2 separate regions of the Homo sapiens genome follow, and region 1 is linked to region 2. The links are contacts of gene promoters, found by promoter capture Hi-C in blood cells and fetal thymus (Javierre and others, 2016). All regions are on one chromosome and are shown on one strand. Each heading gives the region's core, a stretch centred on a gene start or on the middle of the fragment in contact. The rest is flanking DNA. Distances are from core to core; before and after follow the strand shown. Region 1 overlaps CD1C (CD1c molecule). Region 2 holds the start of CD1B (CD1b molecule).

What was found. Contacts are between HindIII fragments. The CHiCAGO score rates a contact against its expected background, and 5 or more counts as called.
Region 1: a contact is called between a fragment that was not itself captured here and the fragment with the promoter of CD1B in region 2, in 1 of 17 cell types (fetal thymus). The highest score is 7.9, in fetal thymus.

The regions. Positions count from the first base shown.
Region 1 is chr1:158,294,242-158,301,089 of GRCh38, forward strand. CD1C (CD1c molecule) reads left to right here. Exons shown (of 6, transcript NM_001765.3): 6 at 1-533. It also overlaps a transcript of CD1B not described here. Among named protein-coding and RNA genes, the nearest start is that of CD1C, 7.7 kb to the left of the region's middle. The HindIII fragment of the contact is 3,555 bases long and covers 474-4,028 here.
Region 2 is chr1:158,328,019-158,334,742 of GRCh38, forward strand. It overlaps CD1B (CD1b molecule), which reads right to left and starts at 3,513. Exons shown (of 6, transcript NM_001764.3): 1 at 3,345-3,513; 2 at 2,778-3,044; 3 at 1,834-2,112; 4 at 1,352-1,630; 5 at 903-996; 6 at 1-239. The coding sequence starts at 3,405. The coding sequence ends at 218. The HindIII fragment of the contact is 309 bases long and covers 3,466-3,774 here.

The DNA.
Region 1 (6,848 bases), core at 1,001-3,500, 35 kb before region 2:
CGTTGTGCTGTATATGGAAGACAAATTTCCTAAAGGACTGTGTTATCTGAGATAGCCTTGGCTAAACTTTAGTCCCTTTAGGTTTCATTCACTAATTCAACTAATATTTTTTGGGTACTGAGTTGAGACAGGCACATACAGCTTCTAAACTGGTGGTGGATAAAACAAATGAGATTGTGTCCACTCTCCTGAAGTTGCAATGTTTGCTTCCTCAATCTGTCCATGTTTCTTTTCTATTGTTTTCATGTTTTTATTTATTTCAAAAAATTTTAAATAGATTTTATTGATGTATAATTTATAGTAAAATTTGAATCTTTAAGTGTACAGTTCTATTTATTTTGATAATTATATAAGCCCATGTAAACAAAATCACAATCAAGATATTAAATGTCATAACCCCTCATACCTGTTTGTAGTCAAGCACACCAACAACCTGGCATTCTTGCAACTACTGATATACTTTATGTCACTTAAGCTTAAACTTGTATTTTCTATGATTTTATTAAGATGGAAATAAACATATCTACTTGGTATTGCCTTTTATTTTTCTTCAGTTTAGCATATGGTTGTAAGTAATCCATGCTGCTCAGTGTATTAGTAACCATTCCTTTTCATTGCTGAATAGAATTCCATGTATGAATATAACTTTTTTTGGAGGAGGAGGTGGCTTCCCAGATCTGGCAGGGCCTTTGTCTCCTTGTGCCCACTCACCCAGCTTGGGTCCTGCTTCCATTGCTCATTTCCTTGGCACCAGGAGGCCCTAGGTGACTCTCCTGCACCCTTAGTCACCCTGTGACCTGCAGATACAGAGAGATCAATAGAGAGGATTCTAGGACACCCAGGAAACTGGGAAATAAAGCCAAAAATATATAAAATTAAACTTATTTTTGGGAGAAGAGACAAGATGGCTGACTAGATGCAGCCAGGAAGAGCTTCTCCCACCAAGAGACAAGACCATCAAGAAGAGCAGTATACTCTGAGAAGATCATTGGAAAGAAGGCATTGAGAGTGGATGGAGGGAGAATGCAGACCCTGGGCTGAAGGGGGGAAGAAGCTGCGAACCCTACACAGGGTTGCCAAACACTAGGACTTATTCTTGGTCCTCAGTGGCTTCTAGGGAAGGGGTTGGTTAAATAGGCATGAAGTGGCCCACTCTATCCATGAACCTCTGGAATCCTAGCTGCAGGAGACCCCCACGACCCACACAGACATTTGAGTTGGCAGGGAAAGCTACTTGCAGAGTTGGCAGGGACAGGACTCCAGCTTCTATGGAACCCAGAGGGTTTGGTGTGAGAACAGCTACAGTGGAGCATGGTTAGGGATGTCCATTACCCGAGGATTGGCATGCTCCTCTAGGTGGCTTTGACCCCTTTGTTGACTATCAGACCTGGACAGAATAGGGCTACCATGATATTTGGATGGGGCTAGACTGATCTGAGCCCCCCACCCCATGTCTGCTGGCCTCTCCCAGGATCCCTGCCTGTCTGTACCTGCTTGCAGCACAGCCTCAGATGTTCAACTGAGGCAGTTCTCAGAGACCACTGCCATAGGTCTTTCACTGGCTGACCCCACCAAACCACCAAATAGCTTCTGTCACTGGCCTCACATCAGCATGCACCTGCCTTCAGCACCCACAACTGCTTTGCTGGCATACATACACAGACATCACTGCCTTGCTACCACTTCTGTGCACATATGCATGGAGACCTCACCACTGCTGCACTGTCCCCACTAGCCTACATGCGTGCATGTACCCTGCCACACTACCATCCCTGGTGTACATGTGCATGGACCTTCTACCCTGCTGCCCCACCACCACCAGCATGTGAGTGAGTGTGGACCCCACCATGCCACTGCCCCACTGCTGCCAGTACATGCATGTGAGAGCAGACCCCCACCGCCACTGCCCTTATGAAATGCTTTTCTGGGACCCCCCCACCCTGCCCACCATAGGAGTGTTGTTGCTAGTGGACTGGGAGCACCTTGGCCCCCTCCAGTGAAGCAGGTGCTCAGTCTCAAGGGGCCAAAGAACAAGGTTCTGGGCCTGGTCCCAGGCCCTCAGTCTTAGAGCATATAGCCCAGGAGTGCTGAGCTGAGCCATGGCCCCCTGAAATCATCAAGAAATAAAGCTAGCTCACTGACCCAAACCTATACCATAGTCAAAGCCTCAAGGGCATCAAAGAATATAAAAGCAAAAGGCCCCATCAAAAGGACAGCAACTTTAAACGTTTAAGGAACATCAGCCCACATAGATGAGAAAGAACCCGTGGAAGAACTCAGGCAGCTCTAAAAGTCAGAGTGTCTTCTTACTTCCAAATGAACACACTAGCTCCCCAACAATCTTTCCTAACCAGACTAAAATGGCTGAGATAATAGACATAGATTTTAGAATCTGGATGGCAATGAAAATCATGAGATTCAGGAGAAAGTTGAAATGGAATCCAAAGAATTTAAGGAATCCAGTAAAATAATACAATAACTGAAAGACAAAATAGCCATTTTAAGAAAGAACTAAGCTGATTTGACAGAGCTAAAAAATTCACTAAAGAATTTTATAATACAATTGGAAGTATTAAAGGCAGAATAGACCACACTGAGGGAAGAATCTCAGAGCTCAAAGACCAGTTCTTCTAATTAACTCAGTCACACAAAATAAAGAAAAAATAATACAGAAGGATGAACAAAATCTCTGAGAAATATGAGGTTATGTAAAGAGACCAAACCTGTACTCACTGATGTCCCTGAAAGAGAGAGAGAGAGAGTGTGCAAACAATTGAAAACATATATGAGGATATTGTCCATGACAATTTTCTCAACTTCACTATAGAGGTCAACATTCAAATTCAAGAAATTCAGAGAACTCCTGAGAGATACTACACTAGAAAACCATCCTCAAGATACACAATAATAAGATTATCCAAGGTCAATGTGAAAGAAAAAAATACTAAAGGCAACCAGAGAGGAGGAGCAGGTCACCTACAAAGGGACCCCAATCAAGCTAACAGCATACCTTTCAGCAGAAACCTTAGAAGCCAGAAGACATTGAGGGCCTATATTCAGCATTGTTAAAGAAAAGAAATTCTGACCCAAAATTTCATATCCAGCCCAAGTAAGATTTATATGTTAAAGAGAAATTCAGCAAAGCAAATGCTAAGGAAATTTATTACCACCAGACCTGCCTTATAAGAAGTCATTAAGGGAGTGCTAAACATGGAAATAAAAGACTCTTACCAGCCACCACATAAATGCACTTAAGTAAACAGACCAGTGACACTATAAAGGAACTACACAATTAAGTCTACATAACAACCAGCTAACAATAATGACAAAATCAACTTCTCACTTATCAATATTTACCTTGAAGGTAAATGAGCTAAACACCCCAAGACACAGAGTGGCAAGTTGAATAAAGAAACAAGACCCTGGCTCATGCCTGTAATCCTAACACTTTGAGGCTAAGGCAGGCCGATTGCTTGATCCTATGAGTTTGAGACCAACCTAGGCAACATGGAAAAACCCCATTTCTACAAAAAAACCAAGAAAATTAGCTAAGAATGGTGGCACATGCCTGTAGTCCCAGCTACTGAGGAGGCTGAGGTAGGAGGATCACCCAAGCCTGGGGAGGTGGAGGCTGCAGTAAGTTGTGATCATGCCACTGCACTTCGGCCTAAGTAACAGAGTGAGACCCTGTCTCACGTTAAAAAAGACAAAAAAAAAAAAAATAAACAAGACCCACCTGTAAGTTATCTTCAAGAGACCCATCTCACATGCAAGGACACCCATAGGCCAAAACTAAAGGATGGCAAAAAATCTGTCAAGCATACAGGAAAGAAAAAAGAGCAGGGGTTGCTATTTTTATTTCAGACAAAATAAACTTTAAACCAACAACTGTCAAAAAGGACATAGAAAAACATTATTTAATGATAGAGGGTTGAATTTAATAAGAAGACTTAGCTATCCTCAATATATATGCACCCAACACAGGAGCACACAGGTTCATAAAACAAGTACTTAGAGACCCACAAAGAAGCTTATGTTATCATACAATAATGGTGGTAGACTTCAACACCCAACTGACAGCATTAGATAGATCATCAAGAGAGAACACTGATAAAGGTATTTGGAACTTAAACTCGACACTTGACCAAATGGACCTAATAAACATTGACAGAACGCTCCACCCAAAACCAAAAGAATATACATTCTTCCCATGCCTCCAGCTTTGTTCCTTTTGCTTAGGATTGTCTTGGCAATGTGGGCTCTTTTTGATTTCATATGAAAGATCAGGTAGTTTTTCCAATTCTGTGAAGAAAGTCATTGGTAGCTTGATAGGGATGGCATTGAATTTATAAATTACTTTGGGCAGTATGGCCATTTTCACGATATTGATTCTTCCTATCGATGAGCATGGAATGTTCTTCCATTTGTTTGTGTCCTCTTTTATTTCATTGAGCAGTGGTTTGTAGTTCTCCTTGAAGAGGTCCTTCACATCCCTTGTAAGTTGGATTCCTAGGTATTTTATTCTCTTTGAAGCGATTGTGAATGGGAGTTCACTCATGATTTGGCTCTCTGTTTGTCTGTTATTGGTGTGTAGGAAAGCTTGCGATTTTTGCACGTTGATTTTGTATCCTGAGACTTTGCTGAAGTTGCTTATCAGTTTAAAGAGATTTTGGGCTGAGGTGATGGGGTTTTCTAAATATACAATCATGTCATCTGCAAACAGGGACAATTTGACTTCCTCTGTTCCTAATTAAATACCCTTTATTTCTTTCTCTTGCCTGATTGCCCTGGCCAGACTTCCAATACTATGTTGAATAGGAGTGGTGAGAGAGGGCATCCTTGTCTTGTGCCAGTTTTCAAAGGGAATGCTTCCAGTTTTGCCCATTCAGTATGATATTGGCTGTGGGTTTGTCATAAATAGGTCTTAGTATTTTGAGATATGTTCCATCAATATCTAGTGTATTGGGAGTTTTTTAGCATGAACAGCTGTTGAATTTTGTCAAAGGCCTTTTCTGCATCTATTGAGATAATGATGTGGTTTTTTTCTTTAGTTCTGTTTATGTGATGGATTACATTTATTGATTTGCATATGTTGAACCAGCCTTGCATCCCAGGGATGAAGCTGATTTGATCATGGTGGATAAGCTTTTTGATGTGCTGCTGGATTTTGTTTGCCAGTATTTTACTGAGGATTTTGCATCAGTGTTCATCGGGGACATTGGTCTAAAACTCTCAGCATCAGGATTATGCTGGCCTCAAAAAATGAGTAAGGGAGGATTCCCTCTTTTTCTATTGATTGGAATAGTTTCAGAAGGAATGGTACCAGCTCCTCTTTGTACCTTTAGTAGAATTTGTCTGTGAATCCATCTGGTCCTGGACTTTTTTTGGTTGGCAGGCTATTAATTATTGCCTCAATTTCAGAGCCTGTTATTGGTCTATTCAGAGATTCAACTTCTTCCTGGTTTACTCTTGGGAGGGTGTGTGTGTCGAGGAATTTATCCATTTCTTCTAGATTTTCTAGTTTATTTGCACAGAGATGTTTATATTATCCTCTGATGGTAGTTTGTATTTTTGTGGGATCAGTGGTGATATCCCCTTTATCATTTTTTATTGTGTCTATATGATTCTTCTCTCTTTTCTTCTTTATTAGTCTTGCTAGTGGTCTATCAATTTTGCTGATCTTTTCAAAAAGCCAGGTCCTGGATTCATTGATCTTTTGAAGATTTTTTTTGTGTCTTTATCTCATTCAGGTCTGCTCTGATCTTAGTTATTTCTTGTCTTCGGCTAGCTTTTGAATATGTTTGCTCTTGCTTCTCTAGTTCTTTTAATGTGATGTTAGGTGTCAATTTTAGATCTTTCCTGCTTTATCTTGTGGGCATTTAGTGCTATAAATTTCCCTCTACACACTGCTTTACATGTGTCCCAGAGATTCTGGTACATTGTGTCTTTGTTCTCATTGGTTTCCTAGAGCATCTTTATTTCTGCCTTCATTTTGTTATTTACCAAGTAGTCATTCAGGACTACAGTTTCCATGTAGTTGTGTGGTTTTGAGTGAGTTTCTTAATCCTGAGTTCTAATTTGATTGCACTGTGGTCCGAGAGACAGTTTGTTGTGATTTCTTTTCTTTTTACATTTGCTGAGGAGTGCTTTACTTCCAATTTTGTGGTCAATTTTAGAATAAGTATGATGTGGTGCTGAGAAGAATATATACTCTGTTGATTTGGGGTAGAGAGTACCGTAGATGTCTATTAGGTCTGCTTGGTGCAGAGCTGAGTTCAAGTCCTGGATATCCTTGTTAACCTTCTGTCTTGTTGATCTGCCTAATATTGACAATGGAATGTTAAAGTCTCCCATTATTATTGTGTGGGAGTATAAGTCTCTTCGTAGGTCTGTAAGGACTCATTATATGAATCTGGGTGCTCCTGTTTTGGGTGCATATATATTTAGGATAGTTAGCTCTTCTTTTTGAATTGATTCCTTTACCATTATGTAATGGCCTTCTTTGTCTCTCTCTCTCTCTTTTTTTTTTTTTTTTGAGACAGAGTCTCACTCTGTCACCCAGGCTGGAGTACAGTGGTGCGATCTCAGCTCACTGCAAGCTCTTCCTCCTGTGTTCATACCATTCTCCTGCTTGAGCCTCCTGAGTAGCTGGGACTACAGGTGCCCACCACCATGCCCAGCTAATTTTTTGTATTTTTAATATAGATGGGGTTTCACCATATTAGCCAGGATGGTCTCAATTGCCTGACTTCATGATCTGCCCACCTCAGCCTCCCAAATTGCTGGAATTACAGGTGTGAGCCACCGTGCCTTTGTCTCTTTTGATCTTTATTGGTTAAAGTCTGTTT
Region 2 (6,724 bases), core at 2,263-4,762:
TCAGGGTGAATCACACTGTTAGTACAGTCTCATAATAAATTTACAGTTTTAAGTACTTTTTTGCTGATGTTTAAATAATAATTTATTTTAAAATACATGAAAACTCTGATTTCATCAAATTTGAAAATCATTTGAAATATGATAAGATTGACTTTTGGGCTGATATCTTGGGCTTCTTGGTACTTATTGCGAATGGGAGAGGAGACATGATGATGGCTCATGGGATATTCTGATATGACCTGTTAAAAACAGAAGAACAAAAGAGCTCCACATAAAAGATGTTTGTACACCCATGCTCATAGTAATATTATTCATGATAGTTAAAAGTGAAAGCAACCCAAGTGTCCATAGATAGACGAATGGATGAACAAAATGTGTTATACGCATATGGTGGAATATTGTTCAGTTTCAAAAAAGGAAGGAAGCCCTTTCATATGCTACAATGAGGATATTACGCTAAATGAAATAAGTCACAAAAAGACAAATATTTACAATTCCACTTATATAAGGTACCTAGAATAGTAGAATTCATAGAGACAGAATGTAGAGCTGTCCTAACCAGGGCCTGGAGAAGAGGGGAAATGGGAACTTGCAGCGTAATAGGAATAGAGTTTCAGTCTTGCAAGACAGAAGAGTTTTGAAGATTGCTTGCACAACAATGTGAACACACTTAACACCACTGAACTGTACACTTAAAAATGGTAAAGATGGTAAACCTTATGTTATGTGTATTTTAACAGAATTTTTTTTAAGTCCACATAAAACGAATGGGAGTTTGGGGAAAGGATATGGTGAAAGGATTGAGGATAAACAATTTTTAAATAGATAAAATGGTAAAAAACAGTGGAAGGGTGAACAGAAAAGACATATTAAAAAAAAAAACAACACCACCCACAACTCACCGGCGCCTCATATACCATAATGCAAGGCATAGCAAAAGGAGCAAGGAAGGCACTATTATTGCCAAAACAATTGAGCCAATGGAGGTGGGGTTTCCTGGCAATTGAGAGAGGACAAAAGGATGTCACTTCAGATACTATACACAGAATTCCTTGGCCTTCCTTTGCCCACCTACTTCCAATGTATGGTCATTTCCAACTTCCTCTCTCATATTCCTGGCCACCATATATCCATCCTTTGATCCCCTCTACCCAGTTTACAGGTCCTTAATTCCTACATTTTTGATAACTTGGATTATCTATTTTTACTCCTGTTGGGATTGGGGTCAGGGAAATCAATCAATCAATCTCTCCCTCTTTCATCTCTCAAGCTCTATCCTTCCCCAGTGCCTCCCTCTATGCCTGAAGATCACTTCCTGGCATTTCCAGCCTGGGTCCCTGCTATTTCTTACTCCAGTAGAGGATGATGTCCTGGCCCTCTAAACTGCTGTGCTTCACCCGACAGGACAGGCCAGCCGCCTCCCCATCTGCCACATCCAGGGTTGCTCGGAGATACCATGTCCAGTTAGCATTGGGCAGGATGTCCCCTAGCTGAGTGCCCTGCTGCTCCTGCTCACCCCGCATCCACATCACCCACACGGGCTTTGGGTAGAATCCTGAGACATGGCACACAAGCTGCAGACGGCCAGGTCCAGGACTGGGGCCACTGGACAGCCAGGCCTCAGGCTTCACTAAGGCAGGAAGGAGAAAAAAAAGTGTCATGTTATAACTCGAGTTCAGAGGTTATGAACTCAGAAACCTACAAGCTTGGACAGCGACCCCATTCACTCCTTTGGGAACCAAATAACTTGTTATTTAAGCTCCTATCCTTTGATATCTTCCTACTCTTGATCTTAGAGGAGGTGGTGGGAAGTGAAATAACAGCAGGACTAACCTTGTCTTTGCAGATCTGCTTTTCCTGCATTGAGGACGCCCAAGAGATATCGGGGGCAGGTTTCATAGAGGAGAATTCTCACAGTTTCCATGATACCTTGATATTGTATGATTAGTGCACAGAATTTCTGTGCCCTGCTGCCACCTTCTGGGGAAGGCACACATGAAGCATTCTTGACACTCAGGAAATCCAATCCTCCTAGAGCTCCCCTCAGGAAGCTTACTATGGCACCTCCAGAATGTAGCTCACAGCCTGCTATGCCCTGGATCTCAAAGGGGTCTATGTAGAGGGAAAAGAGAGCAAGTTATTAAACACAAATAAGAAAAAAAGGCATGAGAAAAGAACCTAGGATTTTAGATTTTGGTGGGGATAAAGTTATTTGGTGTAAAATGATGATGAGCTAAAAACTAATGATAACATTTAGACATTTTCAGAAACAAGAGCATTGAGAAAAATGTGCATGCCATGAAGACAAAGGTATGTGATAAAGGAGTACAGTGAGTATGAAAGGAGAGGTGAGGCAGAGCGTGGTGCAGTCAGGAGTGCAGCATTCCAGAGTGAGTGGAGGTTCCCAGCAAGAGGAGGGTGCGGGGAGGAGATGATTGAAAAGATGGATTAGGGGAGAAAGCCACACGTTAGATCACTCAGGCACAGGGTAGGAGAAGTAAGGGCCCTTGAGGAGAAGTTTCACATAAGACAAACCAGCAGCTGGTTACAAAGTGGAAGACAGTCTGAGAGTAAGAGAAGAGTGCAGAGGCAGCAAGAATCTGAAATATGAGGTGTGATGGTGTGAAGCTGGAGTGAGAGACTACTCAAGAAAAGCATGTGCGTGCATTTGGGTAAAATAGAAAGGAAGGGAGAAGCATCAGAGAGAGCAACACTTTGCAAAAAAGAGAGAAAAGAGAGTCCTTGAGACTCTTCCCAGTTCGGTGGACTAGACTCACATTTCATCTGGAAATCACCGGCAAAGTCTTGTACTTCTCGAGCGAATCCAAAGATGTAGACTCGGAATATCTCCTCTAACTCAGCAACCTCCTTATCACTAAAGTTACCTTTAGACCAAGGCTTCAGGAATATGGCAGTGCCTGAGTCGCTATCCCAGCCATGAATCTGCAAATCATCCAACCAGCCTGAGCCTTGAGTTTGTGCCCAGGTACTATTGGTAAAGGACGAGGTCTGGATAACATGAAAGGAGGTCGGCCCCTGGAAGGCTGTGAAGAGTGGAAAAGCAAGATGGTGAAGATAAAGAGAGAAGCAGGAGACAATTAGGAAGAATGGGAATGAAAATGATTTAGAAAACAAGAACCTAGAGTCTAAAGAACACAGGAAGTCTGACACATTTGACTGCCTTAAGGCTTCAGGTTCTAGTCCCAACCACCAGAATGGTTGAAGAGGGCGGGAGACAGAAAGACCCAGACCCTTAGTGTCCAATTGCACCTAGGAAAGCCCTGCTTGCTTTTTAAAATCCAAACCCCTGCACCAGTGCTGGGAGCTGCCAGAGTGACTCTTACCATGTTCACTGTTACCACCAGGAAAGAGAACAGCTAACAGTTGAAATGGCAGCAGCAGCATTTCACTGGGAGATGCAACTTCTTACTGGCAGAGCTGGTATTTGATCTCCAATTTCAGCAAAGCTTTTCCTCAGTACCCTGTAGTGACTTCTTCTCTCTTCCAACTGCCAAATCTCTTCCTCATCCAAACTGCTTTTCAGAGAAAAATGTGCCTCCCACAGCCCTGAGCCTCTTACCTCACCTTTTATTTCCCTCAAGCCCTGATTTTTAGAGTTTCTCTTACCCCCTGACTTCCAGCCGCTCTCCCTGTCCTCACCTTCCTTCATACCTCCTTGGAAAAGCCCCCATATGATTCTGCATTTTCATTTCTCCTTCCTTAGCCTTTATTCCCACATCTATAGGATAAGATGGTGATATTAAGCAATTGCTAAGCTTTTAGTCTGCTTTAACCCAGAAGGATGCTTTTAGTTTATCCACCTCACTTAGTTTCTCCCCCTCCCAGCTGCCTTATCTTCTCTGGCACTCTGTTACTGCCTCTTCCCAATGTTTTCAATGTCTTCTCTTTCTTATATTGCCCTCTTTGTCTGGTGTTCCTTACCCCACATTCTAAACTGGCTGTGAGTGTGTGTGTGTGTGTGTCTGTGTCTGTGTGTGTATGTGTATGTGTGTGTACCGATATTCACTTACATAAAGGCAAAGCATTTAAAACATTTCCTGTACTATAGCACTACAAACCAAAATGCCAGAATCAAATATAATAAAGACTGAAGTTTATAATTCAAACAAAATTATACTATAGCAATATTTGAGGGAAAAAATGACAATTGCTGCTAGCATGTGACCTTCTCTTCAGGAGCTCTTGGCCTATGGAGTTTTGAGTAACAAATATTCATGACATAAACAGAACTCTAGGAGCTATGCTATGTGCACCTCCAGCCTAAGTCAAAGATAACTTTTTGGGTAAGTTGCCATAAGCGGCAGAGCTTTTTTCTTCTCTTGTAATATCTCATAACTGCTGTCTACATTTGGGCATTCATATCACCACATGTGGTATTAATAATAGAGCAAAGAGGTTGCTTTTTTTTATACAAAAAGTTCAGAGATACTTGTTTTAAGATGTCACCTCCTATCTTCTTGTATGCCCATGAAAAATTTTAAGAAGAATTTTTGGATTTTCTCCATTTAGGAAAAAAATCACATATTTGCAGAGATCTATGTATCATGCAGAAATGTGGCAGCAATCGATTCCGAGTAAAGAGGGTTATCACTAACTAATTCTATTATGTGGATAAGAAAATGCAAAGTGAGTAGTGTAGTGTTCTCTATTCCTGGGGACACTACTGGTTCACAACATTAATAAGACTGGTTCACAACATTAATAAGACTAGCCTTCATCCAAGATTATTACTGCCTAATTGATAAATACAGAGCAGCTCTCCAAATTTCAATGTATGTATCTCTTAACAACATTCCCAGACTCCAATACATGACAGAATTGAATCTACTTTTTGGATAACAGCCATAGACAACAGCAGAGACTTAACATTGGCTGTCACAGACATGAACATTACTATTTTTGTGTTTATACGTTTTTTATTTTGGGTAGAACACCCAAAACAGAGCTCAGGAAAAGCTGGTAGACAACCTGGGCTATTTTCCATTAAAATAAGTGAGTTCTTGCAAGACTCCCAAAGTTGAATTGCTACAAACTAAATCTGAAATGTTCCTCATTTTAAAAAATAATCCAAAAGAGTTGGCAGGGCACAGGAGACTATCACAACACTAGCCCCACACTCATCAAACTTTTTTTTTTCTTGAGACAGAGTCTTGCTCTGTTGCCCAGGCTGGAGTGCAGTGGCATGATCTCGGCTCACTGCAGCCTCTGCCTCTTGGGTTCAAGTGATTCTCCTGCCTCAGCCTCCTAAGTAGCTGGAACTGTAGGCATGTGCCACTATGCCCAGCTAATGTTTGTATTTTTAGTAGAGACTGTGTTTCACCATGTTGGCCAGGATGGTCTTGATCTCCTGACCTTGTGATCTGCCCACCTCAGCCTCCCAAAGTGCCAGGATTACAGGCATGATCCACCACGCCCGGCCACTCATCAAATTTTTAAACAAGTTAGGCCTAAAACATGAGAACAGTAATCCAGTCAAAATTATGTTACCAGAAAGGAATATTAGTATTGCCAAAGACTGAGTTAGAAATTGAGTTGTGCCTGAGAGATGGAAGATAGAGGAAGAGGTCTTGGTTTCAGTTTCAACAGCGTGTAAGTTTTTGCCAAATATGTGCAGAATGTCTACCTAAATAACAAACAGAAAAAGAGGCTCTCTAAAAGAAAAAGATATTTATTTGAGAATAGAGCATTGCAATGGGAATATATATGCAATAGTAAACGATGTGCATACTCAGGGAGGTAAAGGAAGGCAAATTTTTTAAAGAAAAAAAATTAAGAGAATTACATATTTGTTTTGAAATAATTATCCTTGCCTACAAATATCAATAACAACGGTGACACCAGTCAGAGGTTAAACAGACAGTTGCTGGCAGGGCAGATGTCTTTGAGGCATTTTTCATGTAAGGTTGTGATGGCCTTTTCAAGGTTGTGGTTTTTGCAGAGTCTTTCGTGGTAGTTGTTCTTATTAGGTATACAAGTGTGAGAACCCTCTCTGCATAGTCTTCCCTAGCTCTGCCAGTTTTTTTTTTTTTTCCTTAGTGACTCCGTTTTGTTTCTGGCAACATTTGCAAGAAGATGACTGTAAATTTAAATTTAGTTAGGAAAATCGCCAGACAAAATGAAAATTTTGTAATTCTTCAAATGTCATATTTGAGGGAAAAATTTACTTTATACACTGTCTTTTCCCTGAAAAGTGGAGCAATTGAGATAGTTTGAAAGGTCTAGAAATTAACCAGGTTTTCAAGTTACATTCTTTCTCACATATCATATCCAGTATTTCATATTTCCTTTCTGTTTCAAAAGTACAGAAATGGACATGGCAGTGTCCACAGTGTCCACATAGCAATGTCACACATTTCCATACTACACTGTGACTATGCTTGTCCAGCTCTATGGCATGGTTTGTATTTCCACTCTGCATTAGTACCATTGTTGCTTGACATATGAAACCTGTCTTCTAGGGAAAGATTATCCCTAGTCCCAATATTTGTTTCAAATTAAAAAATCAACATGTGCACACTTCTAAATCGAAGCTTTAATTGATGCTTCTAACTCATACTCTCCTATGGGCCTAAAGACCATGTACACTTCTGATAAGCTCATCAAGACACAGGTTTTCTCAGATATTGATTGCATAATCTCACTTATATGTGGAATCTTAAAAGAGTTGAGTACACAGAAATAGAGAATAAAACAGTGATTACCA